Linked DNA regions of Homo sapiens: region 2 is linked to region 1. The links are contacts of gene promoters, found by promoter capture Hi-C in human tissues and cell types (Jung and others, 2019). All regions are on one chromosome and are shown on one strand. Each heading gives the region's core, a stretch centred on a gene start or on the middle of the fragment in contact. The rest is flanking DNA. Distances are from core to core; before and after follow the strand shown. Region 1 holds the start of KCNT2 (potassium sodium-activated channel subfamily T member 2). Region 2 overlaps KCNT2 (potassium sodium-activated channel subfamily T member 2).

Region 1 (6,247 bases), core at 2,865-5,364:
TTGTCCCAAAACCTAACTTAATGGGGCCCTGAGACATAGCAAACATTCAAATATTAGCTGAATGAATGAATGGCCATTAAAGACATATCATACAAACCACTTGAATTAGATTTTTGTTTTTTGCTCAGGATGTCAAACAAGTAAGTGTGCATCATATATACAAAAGACATCCCTACACATAAGCAATATTCTCATTTAGCAACTCAAATTTATTTCATGGCCTCACAGAAGTAGTGTTATCCATGTGCTAAATTCTCTGCACTGCTGTGTCTAACCCTATTCCCATATGTCCTACTCAGAAAAGGATATCAGAGTGCAAATGAGAGAGAAGCAATTATCTAAGGATGGCGTAAAGATAATACAAAGACATATCTATTCATTACATATATTATAATATATATTATTAATCACATATTTGTAATATATGATGCATTACATAATATACAATTTTAGCATACAATATACAATATTTTATAATACATATATTACAAAAGCAATGCATATCTGTTACATATACACTATATACATTACATGTACATTATGCCAGTGTATGTGTATGTGTTTTTACCTACACAAAAGGTGGCACAATATAAATTTAGATGACCTACTTATCCAAAGTTGATTCACAGAAAATCTATGGTATGGAATACACATTTCCTACACCTAATAGGCCCATCAATATTATGTCTTTAACAACACCCATTTGAGCATCTATCATATGCTTCATTCATTTTCATGTGCCAGTCAACTATGACCTAAGATGGAGTTTGAAATTCTTACAGTGAGGAACAAGGTAGAAAGTGTTTATACTCCTACATTTGGAACACAATTCCCCCATCATTACAAGGATGTGGCTCTCTACATCCAGAAAACAGCTATCTTGATGCAGATTCTCCCAGAAGGTAAGCTTGAGATAGGATTGCAGCAAAAGCAGTTCATTTGGGAATTGATCACAGATAAAATACCAGTAGGGGAGAAGAGAGACAGAAGCCAATAAAGCTTTCAGTATTAAGCCAGTTATCACTGCGGGCAAGTGGAGCTCAGTCCCTTTGGACACAGTGTAGAACATGCTTCAGAATTCTCCAAGCTAAGGAGCAAGGAAGCAAAAGTATTGATTCAGAAACAGCCTATTTACTCAGTGACACTCCAGCTTGTTCTCCAAGCAGGACTTGGATGCACCTGAGGTTGGTGGTGGGGAGAAAACCTCATGCAGGAGGTGTTCAAAGAAAGTTGCTTTGAGAATATGGGCAGAGCACTAAATGTATCTGTTGTTGGAAATGATCTACCTACTCCTACATGAAAGAGGGCTTCCTCCTCAACTCTATAAGAATTGAGTCCAAGAAGATAACTGAGTAGAATGAGATTGCTATCCAGGCGTAATTGCAAAGAGGAATTTGTCACCATATTATAGACAAGGAAGATGACTTTACCTACCACATATTAGCTTAGGAGTCTGAAAAGGGAGAAAAAAAGGATTGCAAAGGGCAAATCAGAAGTGAAGAAGGGAACTAATATTTAATGAGCACCTAAACTATGCTAGGTGCTGTAAATTATTCTTATAAGTTCAAATAAATTAAGTGAAAAGAACTTAAGAATTTCTTGAGGGATTTGAATAATAATAAACTGAACTGAAGAGTTATCTTTACACTGATAAGATATAATATCCAAGACACGTATTTAATTTACCAAAATTTCAGTTTCCTTGTGCCTAACATAATTGCCTGCTATTCAGAGTTTGTCTGAGGATTAACTAAGAAAGAACATACCGCACAGTTAAAAGAACTTGGGAGTACTTATTTCCAACTAAATGTTAGTTCTGCGCCTCTCCATCCTTCCTCTTGTCACAGTTTTATAAGGTAGACAGTATAATTCCCATTATAAAAAATAATATTGCTGAATCTCATAATGGCTGAATGACTTTCCCAAGGCCACTCAGCTAGTGAAGGAAACAGCCAAGGACTGAATCTGGGTTTCTCTGATTCCAAGTATCTTGCCTTCAAAGATTAACAACAAATGGAACCAAAACCAAAGAATAGTTTTCCATGAAGCCACAAAAGTAGCCAAATCCTTAAAAATGGTTGAATGATTGTTTTAAATATTTAATAACTTATTTTAGTAGTAAATGTGGCCTGCTTTTTAAGTTAAAGTTGGGCTAGCATAACCTTTTAATAGAACATAAAATTTTAACCATTCTGCAAAACTTTTTTAATATGGCACTGATCCATTTAGGCAGTGTTCAACTAACCAAAATTCTTAATTACTAAAATATTTCTGCAGCATCCTTAGAAAAATGAGGGCAACCACATGAAAATTAACATATTGGATATGATATTTAAAACAAACAAACAACAATACCATCACTATAACCAAAGTATGTGCTTTATGTGTTTAATCTATCTCACACTTTCTACAAAGAGGATTTCTATTCTATATAATGATCCTGAGGTCCTGAACTAAATATACATTCAGTCACTAGGAACACCATGCTACACTTACTAAGCCATTTAACCAGGCTAATGCAGTTTATCTAAATGTCAATTTGTATTACAAATTCACTTAAAAATTATTTTCTTTATCTTCAGTTTACCCAAACACTTTACAAGAATACTGAGAAATTGGTATTACTTCTTTAAATTTTTAGCCAATATGTGTGGTTTTGCCTAAAAAAGAGATTGAACCAAAATATCCTCTACAAAACATCCATCTCCTTTCAAATTACTAATATGAGACCAAACAAGATGCCCATAATTGATGCTCAAGATAAAATCCTCAGTGTGTAGAGACAGGAGTTGGTATTGGGAGCTGAAAAGGTGAAGAAAAGAAATAGAGTGTATTGGTCAGTGGTGAATGAGGAGGGGATTTTGGATTGGACCAATAATGGATCTTTTATATAACTAAAATAGCACATCAATACTAAACTAAACTTCAATGAAACATTTCAATTGAGTTGAGAACCTAGTTAGTATACATGTATTATTTTAAAACAAAGAAATGTGGCATGTGATATATGGGATGACTATTCCAGAAAATACTAAATTCGCTGAAATACAAAATGTGCTTGAGACAGAAATAGACAGAGGAATTTCAGAAGTTTGTGCAAAGCAGTAATGCTATAAATAAAACACATGAACAATATTTTGCTAACAATAAATATTCTAGTTTTGAAACTTAATTTTAATTTTGAGACATATATTCTGTTTCAGTTAAAAAAATATACTAGTTATGAAAAGGTTGTATCATGTTATACAAACATCATTATTCATAATGGTCAGAGTCACCTGTTCAAAGTGAGTATATTGTATTAAAAAGGTTGTCATTTTCACTAACTACCTGTTACATATTTAAACCAATTGTCTACTTAAAACTCCAAAATGTTTAAACAGCATAAAATTTCCAGTGCCAAGTAGATACCTACTCAAGACAACACAGACAAGGAGGAGGTAAATAGACTCAGGAGATTTTAAGTTTCTAATGTGCTTTTTCAAACAACTTGCATGCAATTTTGAGTTTGATTAACCACACCTAAGGAAAAAATGCAAATTTTCTGGAAATGATATTGCATACCATTTGGGTGTATTGTACCTCTGATACCAGCCTTATACACATCCTAGAAAAGCACAGATAGACAAAAGAATAAGCACCAAATGAATGCAATAAATACCTTGCAAGAATAAGAAAAGTGTAAAGAAAAAGAGTTCCTTATCTATAGCAACAGTTATATAGAGTCAAAATGGAGAGACAAATCAGAGTCTCTTTTACTCCCTCCCCCAGCCTAGTCTCCCTCTCTGGCTCCGTTTTCCTTTTCTCCCTCCTTTCCCCACTTCGGCCCTCCCATTTCCGTCTCTTTTTCAGCAATATTTACAGAACAATCCTCCACCACACCACTCACCTGTCGTCGTTTTGCCATCCTTGGTCCCCTAGCAGCAAATCTCGAAACCTGTACCTGGGAGGCAGAGGGGGCACTTCGCTCTCCAAATCAACCATCCTTCCTCAAAGAGTGGGAAACATCAAACAACAAATGGAGGAGAGGAGGGAGAAAGAAAGAAAATATTGCGGAGTACAGGGAGAGGACTAACAAGACGCTGTGGCCGAGAGAGGGATGGGAGAAGGGGAAGGGGACAGGGAGGGGGAGGGGGTCCGCTTGGAGCCGGAAGCTAAGGCTTGAAAGGGGGCTGGCTCCTCTTTCCCGAGGGTGTAATGGGGATGATGCAAACCCAACCCAGGAGCAAAAGTCTGGCTCTGACAAGAATCAACGCTGCCAAGGAACCGCCCCCAGGCTCGGCACCGCCTCTGGTCCCCAGGACTAGGGGGAGGCGGGTATAAAAAGTTACTTCGCCGAAAAAGACGCGCGGTGCCTAGAAAGAGGGGAGAGGGGTGGGAGTGAGCGCCGCTTGATGGTGAAGCACTTTCCTTAAAGGCAGTTGCCAGATCCTCCCAGAGGGCAGCCTCCCGGCTACTGTTCCCTCGGGCGGGCTTGCATCCGGCACAGCCCTGAGCTGGCGGGAATCGGGGGCGGTGGGTTTCGGCCCCAGACGCGGCCAACCCGGCTCTCCCCGCAATCTCCCTGTGGAGATGGAGCTGGAGGCCCAGCCAATGAGACTCCCCCTCATTAGCATAGCACAGTGACGGCACGGGGGTGCCTTGGGGACAACCAATGGGGGCGAGCTAATTAGCGGATTGCGGGGCTCCAGACCCTTCTCTGGGAGGAGGGGGGCCAGGGTGCTTGGAGTGTTCCACTATGCCACGAGCTCCCTCGCTTTGATTGCCTTCAGTCCAGGTGGGCGGGATGAAAAAATTGCACGTTTCTGGAAAGGGAATCCCCACTCTCAGCCCCAGGAAAATCCCATTTTTTTCTCACATTCTGAAAGAAGGGAGGTGTTTCCCTGAACTCGGGGAAAAAGAAGGGCCACCTTAGGCCGCTGAAGAGAAGCATTTAGATGACAGGGAAAGCACATGGAAACGCACTGAGGATTTTACAGTGGTGAGTTGCTGTTACTGCTGTCGCTGCTACTAGCAGCGTTGTGGGCTTCCAGGTGGCCTGGCCTCAGCCTTCGGTCCCCTCCTATTAGTGGTTCACACGGAGGAAGAAGTGAGCCCGAGAGAACAGGGTCTGTTTTTCAGTAAGAACCACTGCTTACATGAACCCTGCTACACAAGCTATGGTTCTATTTGCGCTTACCGTTCTTTCCTTCAAAAACTGATTGCATCAGAGTATATACAGACCGAATACCAACCACCTGACAGCCTGGGCCGGAGGATAACCATATGGCTTCTCCTGCCCTTACTTAAGAACCGCTCTGTGTGGAGGAACAAGCTTGTTCCTTGATAAATGGATACGATGTGAGAGACAATAATCAAAGAACATACAGAGGGATTTGGAAATACCTGTGAGGTACACATACTTCTTCGAGGTGGGGGTCAAGGAAGACATTGAAAATGAACCAAGCCTTCTATATTCGTTCGCAGCCTACTTTAGGGAAAAGAGCAAAGGTGAAGCAAGCAGAGAGAATAGTATGAGTAGAGGCATAGGGATTTTTTAGAATATTTGGCTTATCCAGAAAATAGTGATTAATTTGGCATGATTAATGCTCAGTAGAGGTCATGTAGCAGAGGGTTTATTTAAGAAGCTAGAAATGAAGGAAGAAATTACCAAAACTTGTAACATCAAATGAAATACAATGACTACTGAAACCTGAAGAATAGCAGTTGAAATAAAAGTCATACTGTTTGTCTCTGTCTTCAAAATCCTACTCATCCTTCCAGACCCATCTCAAATTACATATCCTCCATTAGATTTCTTGGTTTTTCCAGCTTCTTATGATGTCTTCTTCCTTTGAACCCCTTTGTTTGAACCCTTCATAACCCATGTGAGTATTTTGCCTGGAATGCTTACTATAACCTGACCCGCTATACGATTATCTGTGCGTTTTTCTTTCAACTCTTCCCCTCTCCCTGTGGCTTAGCTGCCTCTAGCACGGGACCTTCAAAATAGCCACATTTCAACAAATAGGTGTGGAGTTGCATTAAAAGCTATTAAATCTAGGAAATTAAGCATGTTTTTTTCCATCCATGCTTGCACTCCTGTGGTATGTGTTTGTTTATGAAATCATAATTTAGCACGAACTTTTGTAATTACTTTGCTAAATAAGAAAGTAATATTGCTACATTATTAGTTTATACAGATAGAGATAGAGAGAGAGATCTGGTTTATATTTTAGACCTTATCATCTCCTATTAAAATGATTCT
Region 2 (6,002 bases), core at 1,631-4,130, 39 kb before region 1:
ATCAACAAATACAAACAAGATCTATAAACTCAAATATGTACTAAAATGCATCAATAAATACACAAATAAATGCAAGAATCATATGACATCAGTTGAAAGTTATTATCTATATAGTTCTTAATCAAAAACTTTACTTGATGCATATTAATTACAAAATTAAATATGAATTCCTTAATTACCATGGTCCATTATAGAACAGTTCACTCTATATTTCAGCCATATCTCTCACTCCTCCTCTACTTGAACGTTAATGTTTTAAATAATCTACACTAGACTATGTAGCATTTCTTGAACACAACTCTCTTTCCTATGCCCTCTTCCATCTACTAGACCACTATGCTTTCTTCTCAGTGTAACCTCATCAAAATCTCCTTATCTGTCAAGGGCAAAGATCAAATGTCCACTCCTCCCTGAAGTCTAACCTTCTGATCACATTGCATTTAAGTCCCTGCATGATAAGGTTGAATAGCAAGTGCTGTTGTCAGCATAAATCTCGGATCTTCTATTTTTTCTTTCATAATTTTTAGAAACAGGATGGATAACTGATGGTTGGGATCCATCAGGAAGTACAAAAGATGAGGTCCAGAGAAGGCATATTATTCATTATCTGGAAGAATAGCTCTTACTTTTGTCATGAGCAATTCACATGGGACTATGTTCATTTAGATGTTGTTACAAGAACTTAAGGGAGTTCTTCTGTGTGATGGCTTCTGTCACATCCCTGAAGTGAAAAGTTAGATGTTCTGTGGAGAAAGAGATAAAGGTGGTGAAGGACGGCTGAGGAGAGAAGAGAGCATTTCAAAAGGGCTTATGTAGGAAATAGGATATGGAAAACAGCAGCAGAATTGCTGAACAGCATTTACATCTCTAACTATCCCTCAGTACTGGAACCTTTCTTTATCCAATACTTTGATTGCCTTCAGGATAACACTCTGCCTTTAGCATTAGGTTTCAATTTATGTGCTTGGGGTCTTTTTCACAATTCTTAGCAGCTCTAATATTGCAGCATAGAAGTCATCACCTCTAAGGAAGCAATGAAACAAAACCAAAAAATCCTAAGACTTGATCTCAACTGGGTTAAGTATCTTTTGTCTGCTCTCTCTTAATACCCAGTAAATCTCCATCTGCATTTACCACACATTAAAGTGTGTTATTTATGTCAACGGTCCCCAACCTTTTTGGCACCAGAGACTAGTTTCATGAAAGACAAATGGTGGTAGAGATGGTTTCGGGATGAAACTGTTCCACCCCAGATCATCAGGCATCAGATTCTCATAAGGAGCTCGCAACCTAGATCCCTTGTATGTGCAGTTCACATAGGGTTCGCCCTTCTATAAAAATCTAATGCCACATGGCCAGGACGGTGGCTCACATCTGTAATCCCAGCACTTTGGGAGGCCGAGGCGGGCGGATCACGAGATAAGGAGATCGAGCCCATCCTGGCTAACACGGTGAAACCCCGTCTCTACTAAACAAAATACAAAAAATTAGCCGGGTGTGGTGGCCGGCGCCTATAGTCCCAGCTACACGGAAGCCTGAGGCAGGAAAATGGAGTGAACCCGGGAAGCGGAGCTTGCAGTGAGCAGAGATCGCGCCACTGCACTCCAGCCTGGGCGACAGGGCTAGACTCCGTCTCAAAAAAAAAAAAAAAGAAAAGAAAAACACGCCACCACAGATCTGACAGGAGGCGGAGCTCAGGTGGTAATGCTCTTTTTCTGGCAACTCACCTCCTGCTGTGTGGCGCTGTTCCTAACAGGCCACAGACCAGTATTGGTCAGTGGTCCTGAGGCTGGGGACCCCTGGTTTATGTTAATAATGAGCTTTTTTTTTTTTTCTCTCCAGGTTCCAACATAATTGAAGCAAATAGTAAATACTGGTTGAATGCATGCCAGAAAGACACTATGCTTGGCACACAGAGAAAAAATTCATAGCTGTTGGTTCAAAGAACTCTGTACGGTAAAATCTATTGATGTGCTCTCTTGTGATAACTTTCTGTTCCTTTAAAGAAGCAATAATCCAGGACAATGGATGAGGCAGGAGTCACTCATCATTGCTGTGAGTGTGAATCATTGCTATTACAAATTTATTCCTAAAGGATTTCCATCCTTTTCTTGATATCTTAAATATCAATTTCTACTTTCTCCTACTTTTTCTAAGATTTTATTTTAATTTAGCCTCTTAATCTGTTGAAAAATTTTAAGTTAATTTGATTTTTATGTTGTTATATTTTTTAATTTATTTCTTTCAAGTTAATTGATTACTTCTAACTGCAAGTTCTAACTGCAAGTTAACTTCCTATCATTTCAGGATCATATTGTTTTAATAATTTCTAAATTTACTTTGAATAAAATATTTTTTAAAAAACACATTGTCTTTTTAAAATATGCCTTAATATTTGGCAGTGTCTGTTCCTATTTTTAAAAATGACCTCATATTCTCAACATTTATGTTTCAGATTAATTTGATAGTGTTATGTTGATTTTCAATAAAAAATATTTAACTTTTATTGGGATTGAAATAAAGCTGTGAATTTATCTGATATTTGGTCACAACATTAGGATAAAGCTATCATTTCATTTGTTTCAGTCTCTATTTGATATGTACCAGTTAAATTTTATAGATTTCTTCAGGATCATTTGGAACAACTTACTGCTATAGCTATTTATGGCAAAACAGTGCTGAGGGAGTTCAGACTTCTGGAGAGAGCTAAAAAAAACCCTCTGAATTCATTTTGTTAATGAAATTAATTCAAAAGGATAACAGGAAAGGCAGGGCTGAAGGAAGAGAATGGCAGCCCTCATACTGCAAGTCCCTATTCATACCTAAGCAACTGGGGTTTATGTTCGCCCAAATTGGCCAGATTGGAAAGAAAGCTAAAAGACTAAGATTACATATGCTGCTAGAAATTTCTATTAAAAATAAAGGCATGCTTTTGTTTTGATTATGAGGTAGATAAACAACTTCTAGGGGTGAAGAAAGGTGTAGAGATTGGGGGAAATTTTCAACCAAGTTAACCAAAGTCACTCAAGGGCTACAGGAAACTTCTGCTATGCTAAGAAGTTCTAACCAACAAAAAGCCTCCTGAGTCCAGGAAGCTTGAGCTAGAGTAAAAAAAAAAAAAAAAAAAAAAAAAAAAAAATTAAAGGCCTTTGAGTATGGAGGCTTTGTGTAATGATAGGCAAGGACATTTGAGACAACACTTCATTCCACTAAAAGCAACCAAAAACAGTAACAACAGCAAGAATAACCTGCTTTTTGGGTGAAATGCAGTAAGTATGAAATAATCCCAATTTGAGGAATTGTTGGAATTTGATATTCTTATTGTTTAATTTTTTTAAATTATGTGTTGGTAGATTTTCACAGTGCATTTGATTACATAATTTTAATTTTGCCTGAGTAAACCTGACTTTAAAACAATTGGAAAAAACTGTATCACAATATAAAGAAAAGAATCTGAAAATGTGCAAAGGAAGAGAGTTAGACATACTTGTGGGAACCTCATCCCAACACTTTCATATCACATATTGGTGTTATACTCTGACACAATACCAAGTAAACTGAAAAGCTTGAAACTATGAGTAGAGAATCCTACTCTAATCCTACTCAAAGTAGGATTCTCTAAACAAGAAATACTTTATACATGTTATAAACTGGCAGATGCAATGATACTCAAAGAGTCTACAGCAGATTAGGGTGCTATACAGAATATACAAGCCTTCATAAAAAGAACATAATGGGGATGCCTAGGATTCTCACTTCTTAGGTGAGTAACTACTGTCCTTTTCAGAAACAGCTAGATAGATTCTTACTTGCTACTGGATCTTGATGAAGATTAAAGGTCTGACCACAGAACACAGAGAGTTCATCTTAATAAACAATTAAAAAACAGTTGCCCATAACTAACTAGCTGCATCTGACCTATTCCACTAAAAAATCAAGTCTTTATTTCCTCTAACATAAGTGCCATTAAGGCACAAGTAAGTTACATGAACAGACAGCTCACTCTCCTGGCCTACTCCTACCACACTGTTCTAATATGTCCCATATGGCAGACTACCTATATTAGTTCATCTTCCCCTCCCCACTAAGAAGTAAGCCCCATAAAGGCAGAAATCTTTACTTATTTTGTATGACTTCAACACATTAAATAGTATCTCATAGTACCTGAGACATGCTCAACACATATTTGTTGAAATAATAGATGTTTTAAGAATAGATATTTTTGCAAAGATATGGATGGCATATTAGCATTAAACAGAAAATAGAGGAATAAGTTCAATTAGAAAAAAATGCTTAGGGGTCCATTTACAGTATCTGTTGGAAGAATTTAGGCAGCATGAGACAAGAACTGAAAAATTCCCCAAACTTTTCTGTGCCCAAGATATTCTAAAGGAGAAAGAATGAGAGAGGTAAGGCTATCTTCAGAAAACATCCCAGAATATAATAGCATTGAAATCCAACTGAAACAGAGAGCTGAAAGAAATGTGAGAATGAATATAAGAAGCCCTTTCATGTGCAATTTTTGATCTCCAAGGGACTGAAGTTAAGTTAGTTTGTCAATACAAGTCAAAATTGTTCTTAAAAGACATCTGGATTCCTGGTCATTAACCATATTGATTAGTTTACCTCTATTGTGGAACACTTGTCTATAAACAAGGTAATTGTGATCAACAGATCAATCATGCCCTAATGCATATCAAACTAGAGTCCAAATGGTACAAATTCAGGGGAAGATATAGGGCTTCTGAGATCTATGTTTCCAGAGATCCAGCAGATTCATTATTCCCCTAGACATGCAGAAATTCTTCCACAGAAAGGGTCAGCTCAGTAGAGAATGAGGTGTGTTCATGGAGAAGTGATGTGAGTTCTTGAGATTTCATGAAACAGAAATATCAGTTGTTTTATTTCAGCAGTAGAAATGGTATATATATTTGGTAATGTGCTTCCATTCTGAAAATATGACCTTGATTGTGCAGGTGTTAAAATCTGCTTAAAGGAGGTTTTAAAAGTAAGAAGCAGGACCTGAAAGGCAACCTCTCAATACCATGAAAGAAATGGTTCTATGTACACCTTTGTCCTCTTGTCTCACATAAGGCTCAGATTCTACTGAGAAATGCTCATGAGCACATGCTGTTCACCATTTCATCTCTTCCAAATGGTAGCAAACCTTGGCTATAAAATAAGAGAGTAAGGTAGTGACATATTCTGAGAATTCATCCAACCTTCTCACCAAAATTAAACCTTGCCAGTTCAAGTTTTGGATTCAATATGAAGATCCACTAGAGACCTGGAACTTCTCTCAGTATAGGGAAATCTCCACCTGGCATAAGATCCTCCAGCTCAAGAGTAGTAGCCTAAACTTGGGTAGTAGTAGATGTTGGTGTGATGACCTAGTCACTGTAAGTAGTGAGTGAGGATCTCGCTCAGCATCTAGGAAAGAAGGCAGACTTTGATAACAACACACAAAAAGGAAACTTAGATGTCTTAATCTTGGCTTTCTAGGAGATAAAGAGAGAGAGAGTGCAATGAAGTGAATCAGAGAAGGCTAAGGAAAAAGTATTCAAAAGAGAGAACTGCATACGTTTTGCCATTTTGTCAGCAATTCCTATTCACTATCACCACTTTGGGTGGGATTACTTGTAGGTCATCATTATCATGGAATGCAAAGGCTTTCTAAGGGTGATGGATACTATTATTGAAAAGTTGCTATATTTTATTGAGTACTATGATGCATTTAGATAGTAGGTTAATGTAGACTTTCAATAAAATCTGATGAAGAGGAGAACATTTACTGAGGAACTTTGTAGAATGAATTAACGCATAGGAACCAACAACAGAAGAGTTGCTGCAAAAGCTTTTATGGAGTAAGAATGTCTAACATATAATTTCCAGTTGTTTCTTGATGCATGATGACACTTACCTGCTTCTCAGAAAACTTTAATGAGTTCTACTCCATATACATGGAGAAGAAAATAGAAAGGGACTCTAGTGTCTCAGGTTTA

The links. The method cuts DNA at HindIII sites, captures the fragments that hold promoters and counts their contacts. A contact is called where the count stands out against the background at its distance.
Region 2: a contact is called between a fragment that was not itself captured here and the fragment with the promoter of KCNT2 in region 1, in 1 of the 25 tissues and cell types used here (adrenal gland).

Annotation. Positions count from the first base shown.
Region 1 is chr1:196,604,326-196,610,572 of GRCh38, forward strand. KCNT2 (potassium sodium-activated channel subfamily T member 2) reads right to left here and starts at 4,115. Exons shown (of 28, transcript NM_198503.5): 1 at 3,890-4,115. The coding sequence starts at 3,984. RefSeq lists an enhancer at 4,450-4,966. The HindIII fragment of the contact is 13,382 bases long and covers 1-6,247 here.
Region 2 is chr1:196,566,960-196,572,961 of GRCh38, forward strand. The region is part of intron 1 of KCNT2 (potassium sodium-activated channel subfamily T member 2); the gene reads right to left. Among named protein-coding and RNA genes, the nearest start is that of MIR4735, 13 kb to the right of the region's middle. The HindIII fragment of the contact is 3,657 bases long and covers 1,053-4,709 here.